Linked DNA regions of Homo sapiens: region 1 is linked to region 2. The links are contacts of gene promoters, found by promoter capture Hi-C in blood cells and fetal thymus (Javierre and others, 2016). All regions are on one chromosome and are shown on one strand. The core of a region is centred on a gene start or on the middle of the fragment in contact, and the rest is flanking DNA. Distances in the headings are between cores, read along the strand shown. Region 1 holds the start of TALDO1 (transaldolase 1). Region 2 holds the start of MIR210HG (MIR210 host gene).

Evidence for each region. The method cuts DNA at HindIII sites, captures the fragments that hold promoters and counts their contacts. A CHiCAGO score of 5 or more calls a contact.
Region 1: the fragment with the promoter of TALDO1 here is called in contact with the fragment with the promoter of MIR210HG in region 2 in 1 of 17 cell types (naive CD8 T cells); the score reaches 5.3 in naive CD8 T cells.

The regions. Positions count from the first base shown.
Region 1 is chr11:744,553-749,562 of GRCh38, reverse strand. It overlaps TALDO1 (transaldolase 1), which reads right to left and starts at 2,099. Exons shown (of 8, transcript NM_006755.2): 1 at 1,985-2,099. The coding sequence starts at 2,081. It overlaps LOC105376509 (a long non-coding RNA gene), which reads right to left. Exons shown (of 3, transcript XR_930962.3): 3 at 2,601-2,814. RefSeq lists silencers at 1,499-1,588, 1,689-1,978, 2,039-2,638 and enhancers at 1,818-2,466, 2,769-2,828, 2,467-3,115. The HindIII fragment of the contact is 13,110 bases long and covers 1-5,010 here.
Region 2 is chr11:565,787-570,975 of GRCh38, reverse strand. It overlaps MIR210HG (MIR210 host gene), which reads left to right and starts at 2,519. Exons shown (of 2, transcript NR_038262.1): 1 at 2,519-2,624; 2 at 3,123-5,189. MIR210 (microRNA 210) reads left to right here and starts at 2,778; the gene lies at 2,778-2,887. RefSeq lists enhancers at 837-1,587, 4,173-4,727, 4,728-5,189. The HindIII fragment of the contact is 23,407 bases long and covers 1-5,189 here.

The sequences.
Region 1 (5,010 bases), core at 850-3,349, 180 kb before region 2:
AACCTTCACTTCACAAACTACAGATCACAAACCCAACAGACTATTTTACAACTATATAACATTTATGAACATATACTATCAATGAATGTATTTTTTTGTTAATATTCATTAAAAAAAAATGTCACAACTTGGGTTTAGAAGATTTTTTTTTTTTTTTTTTTGAGACGGAGTTTTGCTCTGTCGCCCAGGCTGGAGTGCAGTGGTGTGATCTTGGCTCACTGCAACCTCCGCCTTCTGGGTTCAGCAATTCTCCTGCCTCAGCCTCCCAAGTAGCTGGGATTACAAGCATGCAACACCGCACCCAGCTAATTTTTGTATTTTTAGTAGAGACGGGGTTTCACCATGTTGGTCAGGCTGGTCTCGAACTCCTGACCTCGTGATCCACCTGCCTCAACCTCCCAAAGTGCTGGGATTACAGGCGTGAGCCACCTCGCTGGGCCAGAAGTTTTCTTAAAAAACAATACAAAACAAAACCAGAAACCCAGGACTCCCCAGCCCTCCTGTGGGTGTGGGTTTAGGAAAATCCATCTTTATTGGCCCTGCACTGCCAAGTGTAATGGACCTGACACTCCGCACCAGCTCTGCCCTAACTGGTGAGGGCCAGTAAGGAACAATACAGATGAGCGCTCTGTCCACCAGGCAAACTGCAAATTATTCTCAGTGCTAAGAAGGGAAAAAACTGAGCAGCAGAAAAATGTGTAGCCCCTTTTCTGGAGCTTTCTTTCTTATGAAGAGAGGTCTGGACTACAACGGGGGGGCTGTGTGTGTGAGGGATTCACAGCTCTAGCTTTGGATCTCCCAAAGAGGGGTCCGGAGCAGACTGTGGCACCCCAAGCCAGTCACTGAATCCCCATATTTTATGGTTAAGCAGCCAAACATGCCAATTCACTCTCTAGGCTCTGCTAGATAAACAATGCCCTTACTCAGTTACCAAAGAGGAATTAAAGCCTGTTTCTCAAGTCACCATGAGAAAGCAGAAAAGAGAGGAAGTCACTTCCGTATTAGGTGCTCGCAGCATTCATCCATGAAGCGTTTCATGATTTTCTTAAAAAATATTACTTGTTCTCAACAAAACATAGACACAAGGCTCGTCTACTCTGCACTGCAGAGGACAGAAGAGCTAAGTATTAATAAATAATCCTTCTTTGTATTTTCCAAGTTCTCTCCAATGTAAACAACTCAAGCCCAGGAAAATCCAGTATTTAACAGTGTACCAACCCTGTGCTTTCATGGGCACCGGCTTTTACCCACCCGGTGCGTCTGGCGGTGGCTGTCCAGCAGGCCGGGCACCTGCCGCCCACGGAGTTGTCCCACTGGGCACCGCAGGGCTCAAGGGCGATGGCAGCACTGGCAGCTTCTGGTCAGAGCTAGCTGATGTCCCCGCTCTGCAGACATCAGCCCAACAAAATTGCATCTCGCTGACCACAAACTGGCCACGTGGAAGTCAGCTCGAAGCTCTACCCTGAATCTCTCCTGAACTCAAAGGCTCTGAAAGCTGCCTCGACCCATGAAGGTGCACAGAGGGGCTCCCGCGGGCTGCCCACAGCCCGTCCCGGGTGCGGGGTCTGAGGGCGCAGCCGACCCCACCCTGGGCGGAGGGCGAGGCTGGGGCTCCGGCTTCGTGCCCCACGGCTCGCAAGGACCCGTCAGTACCGCCCGCACCGCTGACCCCAGCACCGAGCCCCTCACGGCTGACCCCAGCTCCTCACGGCTGCCCCCGGCCCTGCTCCCTCACGGCCGACCCGGGCCCCGTTCCCCTCACGGTCGCCGCTGGCCCTGCGCCTCTCACGGCCGACCCGGGCCCCGCTCCCCTCACGGCTGTCCCTGGCCCCAACATCCGGCACCTGCGCTCATTCCTCCCGGAACGAGCCGCCCGGGGCACCGCCACCCGGTCCGCGTCCCGGAACGGGAGACCCGGGGAAATCGGGGCGCCGGGGCCTCTGGAGGGCGCTTGCGCCGCGCCCGGGCTCCGCGCCGTCCTCACCGTGGAAGTCGCCCGTGTCGGCCACCACGGTGGTGAACTGCTTGAGCTGGTCCAGCGCGGACTCCATCCTCTGACGCTTCACGGGTGAGCTCGACATAGCAAGACCGAGGGGTCTGCGGCGGCGGCGGCGGCGACGGGACGGGCGCGCGGACGGCCCACAATGCCCCGCGGGCGGCTGCCAATCGGAAAGCGGCGCGGGAGGGCGAGGCCCGCTGGTCCCTGCGCGCCTGGACGAAGCCCCGCCCCCGGGGACGAAGCCCGAGCGCCACTGCCGGCCGCGCACCGCAGCTGCGGATCCTACAGGCTGGGTCTCCCCAGGTCCTCAGCAGCCGCCGCGGACGGGCCCGGGAAAACACCTGCACGACACGGGGCGGCTGGGCCTCGCCTCCTTCCTGCCCCGCGGGACGCACCGGGAGGGCTGGAGGAGATGGACCTGGCCCGGGTGCCGACTCTGCGGGGCTGAACCCGCCAGGGCCGAACCCGGCGATGCAGGATCCATGGTGGGGCCAGGACTGGGGTCGGGGGCCGCTGCAGGAAGCAGGGGAGGGAGCGGCGGGGGACGCCCTGCGGGTGCAGGAGGCAGAGCAGGGGGCGGCTGCAGAGCCCGGGCGCCGGACGCGGCGGGGAACCTGCTTCTGGGAATCTGTTCCCCTGAGTCCTAAGCCCAGAGGTGTCCGGGGGACCGAACGGCGAGGCAGGCGTAGGAGGCCCAGCTGCCCTGCTTCTTACCATCGCTGACTTGCAGAGTTCCTTGTATATTCTGATCAAGTCTCTGTCGCTTGTGTCTGCGTTGCAGACACTGTAACCGCCCCATGGGTTCGCCTTGCCAGCTGCCGGGACAGAGTCTATTGTCAAGACAGGGGAATTGCAATAGAGAAAGCATAATTCACACAGAGCCGATTGTTCGGGAGACCAGAGTTTTATTCCTCAAATCAGTCTCCCCAAAACTCGGGGATCCCAGTATTTAAGAATAATTTGGTGGGTAGGGGGCCAGTGAGTCAGAAGTGCTGACTGGTCAGCTAGGGATGAAATCACAGGGAGTCGAAGCTGTCCGCTTATGCTGAGTCAGTCCCTGGGTAGAGGCCACACAACTGGTTGGCAGGTCCAGGTGGGGCCATCCGGTTGTCAGAAATGCAAAAACCTGAAAAGACTTTTTTTTTTTTTTGAGACGGAATCTCGCCCTTGTTGCCCAGGCTGGAGTGCAGTGGCGCGATCTTGGCTAACTACAACCTCCGCCTCCCGGGTTCGAGCGATTTTCCTGCCTCAGCCTCCCGAGTAGCTGGAATTACAGGCGCTCACCACCACGCCCGGCTAATTTTTGTATTTTTAGTACAGACGGGGTTTCATCATGTTGGCCAGCATGGTCTCGATCTCCTGACCTCGTGATCCGCCCACCTCAGTCTCCCAAAGTGCTGGGATTCCAGGCGTGAGCCACCGCGCCCGGCGGAAAAGACTTCTTAAAAGGCAAATCCTAGGCTGACGCGGTGGCTCAGGCCTGGAATCCCAGCACATTGAAAGGCCAAAGCAGGCGATCACTTGAGGTCAGGAGTTGGAGACCAGCGTGGCCAACATGCAAAACCCCGTCTCTACTAAAAATACAAAATTAGCCAGGCGTGGTGGCACATGGCTGTAATCCCAGCTACTTGGGAGGCTGAGGCAGGAGAATGGCTTGAACCTGGGAGGTGGAGGTTGCAGTGAGCCGAGATTGTCCCTCTGTACACTAACCTGGGCTACAGAACGAGACTCCATTTAAAAAAAAAAAAAAGGCCAACCCTAGGTTCACAGTAGTGTTGATATCTTGGGGAAGTTGCAAATCTTATCTTATGACCTCCAGAATAATGGCTGATAATATTTAGACTTCCAGCCCCTCTCATTCTAACTTGGTGGCTGGTGGCCTTTCATTCATTTTACAAGAACAGTCTAGTTTTGGGGAAGGGCTATTATTTAAACTATAAATTAAATTCCTTCCCAAGACTTGTTTGGCCTATGGCCAGTAATGGACAAGGACCGTTTGAAGGTTAGAAACAAGATGGAATTGGTTAAGTCTGTTATCTTTCACTGTCATAATTTCCTTAGTTATAATTTTGCAAAGGTGGTTTCAATACTTCCTCTCAGCATGTGTTCCCTTTTCATTTTAATAGTGTCTTTAATGAACGTTAGCTTTTTATTTTGATTAAGTTCAATTTATCAAGTTTTAATTTTATATTTACTCCTCTTTTTTGGTATCTTCTCTAAGGAGTCTTTGCTTGCTCCAAAGTGACAAATTTTTTTTTTTTTCTGGTGAGATGGAGATTTACTCTTGTTGCCCAGGCTGGAGTGCAATGGCGCGATCTCAGCTCACCGCATCCTCCGCCTCCCAGGTTCAAGCGATTCTCCTGCCTCAGCCTCCCGAGTAGCTGGGATTACAGGCATGGGCCACCATGCCCGGCTACTTTTGTATTTTTAGTAGAGACGGGGTTTCACCGTGTTGCCCAGGCTGATCTCAAACTCCTGACCTCGTGTTCCACCTGCCTCGGCCTCCCAAAGTGCTGGGATTACAGGTGTTAAGCAACTGCGCCCGGCCAACGCCCAGCTAACTTTTGTATTTTTAGTAGAGACAGAGTTTCACCGTGTTAGCCAGGATGGTCTCAATCTCCTGACCTCGTGATCCGCCCACCCTAGTCTCCCAAAGTGCTGGGATTATAGGCGTGAGTCACCACGCCCAGCCAACAAAAATATTTTTTTTTTTTTTTTTTTTTGAGACGGAGTCTCGCTGTCGCCCAGGCTGGAGTGCAGTGGCGCAATCTCGGCTCACTGCAGGCTCCGCCCCCTGGGGTTCACGCCATTCTCCTGCCTCAGCCTCCCGAGTAGCTGGGATTACAGGCACCCGCCACCTCGCCCGGCTAAATTTTTTGTATTTTTAGTAGAGACGGGGTTTCATCGTGTTAGCCAGGATGGTCTCGATCTCCTGACCTCGTGATCCGCCCGCCTCGGCCTCCCAAAGTGCTGGGATTACAGGCGTGAGCCACCGCGCCCGGCCTCAAAAA
Region 2 (5,189 bases), core at 1,270-3,769:
CAGGATGGTCTCGATCTCCTGACCTCGTGATCCGCCTGCCTCGGCCTCCCAAAGTGCTGGGATTACAGGCGTGAGCCACCGCGCCCAGCCTTTTTTTTTTTTTTTTTTTTGTGACGGAGTCTTGCTCTGTTGCCCAGGCTGGAGTGCAATGGCGCGATCTCGGCTCACCTCAACCTCCACCTCCCAGGTTCAAGTGATTCTCCTGTCTCAGCCTCCCGAGTAGCTGGGATTACGGGCATGCATCACCACGCCCGGCTAATTTTGTATTTTTAGTAGAGACGGGGTTTCTCCATGTTGATCAGGCTGGTCTCGAACTCCTGATCTCAGGTGATCCACCCTCCTCGGCCTCCCAAAGTGCTGGGATTACAGGCATGAGCCACCGCGCCCGGCCTTCTCTCTTTTTTTGTGTTTTTTGTTTGTCTGTTTGAGACAGAGTCGTACTCTGTTGCCCATGCTGGAGTGCAGTGGCGTGATCTCAGCTCACTGCCAACCTCCCAGGTTCAAGCGATTCTCCTGCCTCAGCCTCCCAAGTAGCTGGGATTACAAGCTCACACTACCATGCCCGGCTGATTTTTTTGTATTTTTAGTAGAGATGGGGTTTCACTATGTTGGCCAGGCTGGCCTCAAACTCCTGGCCTCAGGTGATCTGCCCACCTCGGCCTCCCAGAGTGCTGGGATTACAGGCTTGAGCCACCACACCCGGCCTGTTTTCCCTGTCTTTTATAAGGACACTGATCATTGGATTTAGGGCCCACCCAGAAAGTCCAGGATGATCTCGTTTCAAGATGTTTCCCTTAATGACATCTGCAAAGATGCTTTCTCCCGATGAGGGCACATTTAGGAAGCCTGGGTATTAGGATGTGGATATATCTTCTTTTTGGCGGAGGGACCATCCCACTCACTACAGATGCTGAGAAAAGGTGCCTGTGAAATTGGCAGGACTGGGGGCAGAAGTGGGTTCACGTCAGCAGGGCACGACAGGAACACAGAGCTGCCCTGTCCTCTTGCCCCTTCTTGTCCCCTAGTCTGACTGCCCTAGGAGCCTCTGCCCTGCCATGAAGACGTGGGCCTTCTCAGGGACCCCACTGACTCTTAGAGGCTCCTTCACGACCCACAGGATCGAGGTCTTGCTGACCCCTGACCCCCAATAGAACCGAGTGGCTCCGTGATCCTCTGGGCACCTTCCCCATCCACAGGCAGCCACAGGTGCAAGGAGCCACTCGGTTCTATCGGGGGCCAAGGGTCAAGGGGTCAGCAAGACCTCGGTCATGTCTTGCTGATCATGTCTGAGTCACCCCAGACTCTGCATCTGAATTTTTGTCCCCAGCCTTCAAGCCCCTGAGGACATGGGCTGGTTCGGAAGCTCCCTGGGGCCCCAGCACTTTGCCGCCGGGGCTGGGGCAGGGGGCAGGCTGCGGCCCAGGCCTGCGCGGATGCCGAGGCAGGGAGGTCATGGGGCCAGGGGAGGACAAAGAGCAGGGCGGTGAGTTTAGGGCCAGGGAGCTGAGGGGAGACGGCCCGGGGCCGAGGACCAGGGTGACAGTGCCAAGGGGGGCCGGCGGCCAAATCTCCTTTGGCTGCCACTTTGGAGCCCCACCCCGGAGTCCGATACTTCCACGTCTGAAGCTGGCCCTGCGAGTCCTAACGAAGGTCAAACCGTCAAGGCTCCTTTGATTTTACACGTTTTCAGCGCACAGACAGGATTCTCTCGCCTCGTCCCCTCAAAGACCGGCACAGGGCTGCGAAGACCCCTGAGCCCTTGAGGCACCCCCTCCAGGCTCCAGAGGCTTCCGCGGAGACAGAGCGCGCAGGAGGGACCCAGAGCCCCCAAGGGCGCCCCGTGGGGGTCGCCAGGCAAACCAGGCAGAGCCAGAGCCCCCTCTTCGCCAGCAGGACGGACCCGGGCGTCCTTTGGGGACCCCAAGCCGCCCGGGGGGTGGTGCGTGCGTCCCGAGGACGCCGTGTCCGGGCCCGCGCAGGCCCCACCCGGGTCACGGCCCGGGATACGTGCGCCGGGCGCCCAGCGGGTTGGGGGGGGCGGGCCCGCGGGACGCGGGTGCGGGGCACGGAGGCGGCCGGGTCGTACCACCGCGCCGCGGGAAGAGGGGCAGCTCCCGGCCGGCCCTGCCGCCCCACGCACACCCGCGGGCGGAGGACCCGTCGCCAGGCTGCGCCCCACGCCCAGCCCGGAAGCCCCGCGAGCCCGGGCCATACCACCGCGCGGCGGGAGGAGGACCACCTCGGGCCGTACCATCCGCCCGGCCGGGGGACGCGCCCTGGCCCCGCCGCGCCCTCGCAGCTGGCGCCCCGCAGGCCCCGCCCGGCAGGTGCCGCCCCTCCCCGGGCAGACGTGCAGAAAAGAACGCGCCGGCCTCGCCCGCGAAGGGCCGCGCGGCGGTGGGCGGGGCGTCGCGAACCCCCCTCGCGCCCACTGGCTGCGTTGCGGTAGGGCGGGCCCGGCTAGGCCGGCCATTGGCTGAGGGACCAGGTCATTTGCATACGGGGCTGGGCGTGGAGCCGCGGGGCCCGGGGCCGGTCGGGTCGGGCCGGGGGGCGAGAGGGTGCCAGCGGCCGCAGCTGAAGTTGGGCCGAGAGCCGGCGACGGCCCCGCGCCGGGGTCGCAGGTGACGCGCGAGGGATCCCAGGTTGGCGGGCGGGGCGCCCCTCAGAGGCCGCCCTCCCGCGGGGGCTGCGGGGGGTCGGGCTGGGCAGGCGCGGCGGGGCTCGGACGCCCAAGTTGGAGGGGACGGGGGTGGGGTCAATCCCTCCGCCCGCCCACCCGGCAGTGCCTCCAGGCGCAGGGCAGCCCCTGCCCACCGCACACTGCGCTGCCCCAGACCCACTGTGCGTGTGACAGCGGCTGATCTGTGCCTGGGCAGCGCGACCCTCCTGGCCCCGTGTCCGGGTCTGGCGGGCAGGCGAGCGGCCACACGGGGACGCGAGGGCAGCTGGATACCGTGGGGAGGGGGTGCCCTATGGACGGGGTGTGCCTGTCTGGCCAGCAGGGACGGCGGGTGGGGGTAAGCGAAATCATTCGGGGGCTTTGCTGCCCTCCGCTTGGTGGGGCTGAGGCTGGGCCAGATACCCTCTTGGAGGGAACTTTCTTTTCCTTGTGTGTCCAGGGTACCAGTGTGCGGAGTTCCTGTTGCCAAGCTGAAGGTGGCCCTGGGCAGGCACAGGTGTGGTCATATCTTCAGCCAACAGGACCATCCTCCGGAGGGCCACCTCTGGGGACTTCCTACGGGAAGAGAGTGACAGATTTGGTGCTTCTGTGTGTTTCTGCCGCTTCAGTGGGGCCGCTGCGGGAGACAGCGGGTGGATCCTCCAGCAGCCTGTCTGCTGAGCCTGCCTTCTCAAGTCTACTGTTAAAATCAGGACCGGGTCGTGTCCGAGCCTACAGGCCCTGTCTCCGCTCCCCAGGCCTGCAGGAGTTGAGGGCTGCACCTGCTCGCTGGAGAGGGAGAGGCAGATTTAGTGGACGCCTGGCATGGACTCGGACTGGCCTTTGGAAGCTCCCTGCCCTGACGGGGTTGCCTGTCACCACTGCGAAGTGAGGCTTGGCAGGACCTGCACCTGAGAAAGGCTGTGTGTGGTCTTGGGGTCCACACCTGCAGAGCTAACTTACTGCCAGACGGCGACTTACTGTGGGCCACCCTCAGTGAACCGGGGTGTCCTCAGCTGGCCCTACAGAGCACTTCTGTGCTGGGGATGAGTAGGAACTCTGGGCGAGGAGGGTCCCAGCGCCGCCCCTCGATACAGCCTGGCTCTGCCCTCTGCCCGTACTTACACCAGGTGGGATCCCTGCCCTGCATTGCCTGGGGATTGGCTGGGCTTGGGCCCGCCCTGCTGTGGAACTGGATGTTTTCAGGGAGCCCAGCCTTTCCTCATGTCAACACAGTTCACAATATAGTTTTCAAAGTACAGTTTAAAACTCAAAAGTAAACTTTTCAGCAACTCAAAGGTTTGCTGAGTGATCTGAAGCACTCTGGCCACTTTTTGGGGCCATGGGATTTGGTTCACCTGAAACAGCCAGTGAGAGGCCGGGTGTGGTGGCTCACACCCGTAATCCCAACACTTCAGGAGGCAGACGCGGGTGATCGCTCACTTGAGATCAGGAGTTCAAGACCAGCCTGGGCAACATGGTGAAACCTCGTCTCTACTAAAAATACAAAAATTAGCTAGGCATGGTGGTGGGCACCTGTAATCCCAGCTACTTGGAAGGCTGAGGCAAGAGAATCGCTTGAACCTGGGAGGTGGAGGTTGCAGCGAGACGAGATTACGCCGCTGCACTCCAGCCTGGGTGACGAGAGACTCTGCCTCAAAAAAATAAAAAAATGAAACAGCCAGTGAGGAGGAAGGCTCCCCGCCTTCCCCCCGCCGGAACATAGCCATAGCTGCTGCTGGGACACCCTCTTGGTGGGGAAGAAGGCTGGTTAGCTTCATCAGAGCCAGCAGCAGCAGACCAGGGACGGGCACCTAGGCAGTGGCCTCAGAGTGAACAGGAGTTCCTCAGAAACACACACAGGGACGGCGTGGCGCATGCTCTGCCAGCTCCATGCCTCCTTCCCATTGTGGGGCTGGGGTACGTAGGGCAGAGCTCATGACCTCCGGGAGGACATGGGGGTGGGCTCTGGATGGCACCTGGCATTGCCCCCTGCTGGCCTATGTGACGGTGTGGAGGGCTGGTCACAGAGGTACGACCATCCCTCCAGAATGTGGGTCGGGGCTGTGGATGGAGGAGTAGGCCCCTCATATCCCAGGCCTGCTGCCCAGGCACAACCCACTTGGCCTATGCATTCCAGGCTCCATCCCATGTGACTCTGGGCTTAGCCCCTTCTGGGGCCACAGGTCAGGCAGGTCCAGGCCCCAAGGACCTCCCAGTGACAGGCGACTGTGAGCTGGGCAGACAGGAGTGAAGTCAGGTGGGGGTTCTGGCTTGCTGACACCAGCGTTTGGAGCCTCCTGCTGCTGCCTGGCTTCCCTGCATTCCCTGTTCCCTGCCTCAGGCAAGAAATAACCAAGCCGAGTTGCCTCTGCACAGCAGTGAGCTCCTGGTGGCCCTGGCTTCTGGGGAGCCCTGTGGATGGCTTCCTTGCCCAAGTCCAGGCCTTCTTGTTCCCTTTGTGTGCTCCAGAGAAAGGGGGCAGCACCAGATCCAGATCCAGGGCCAACCAACAGAAAGCTGAGTC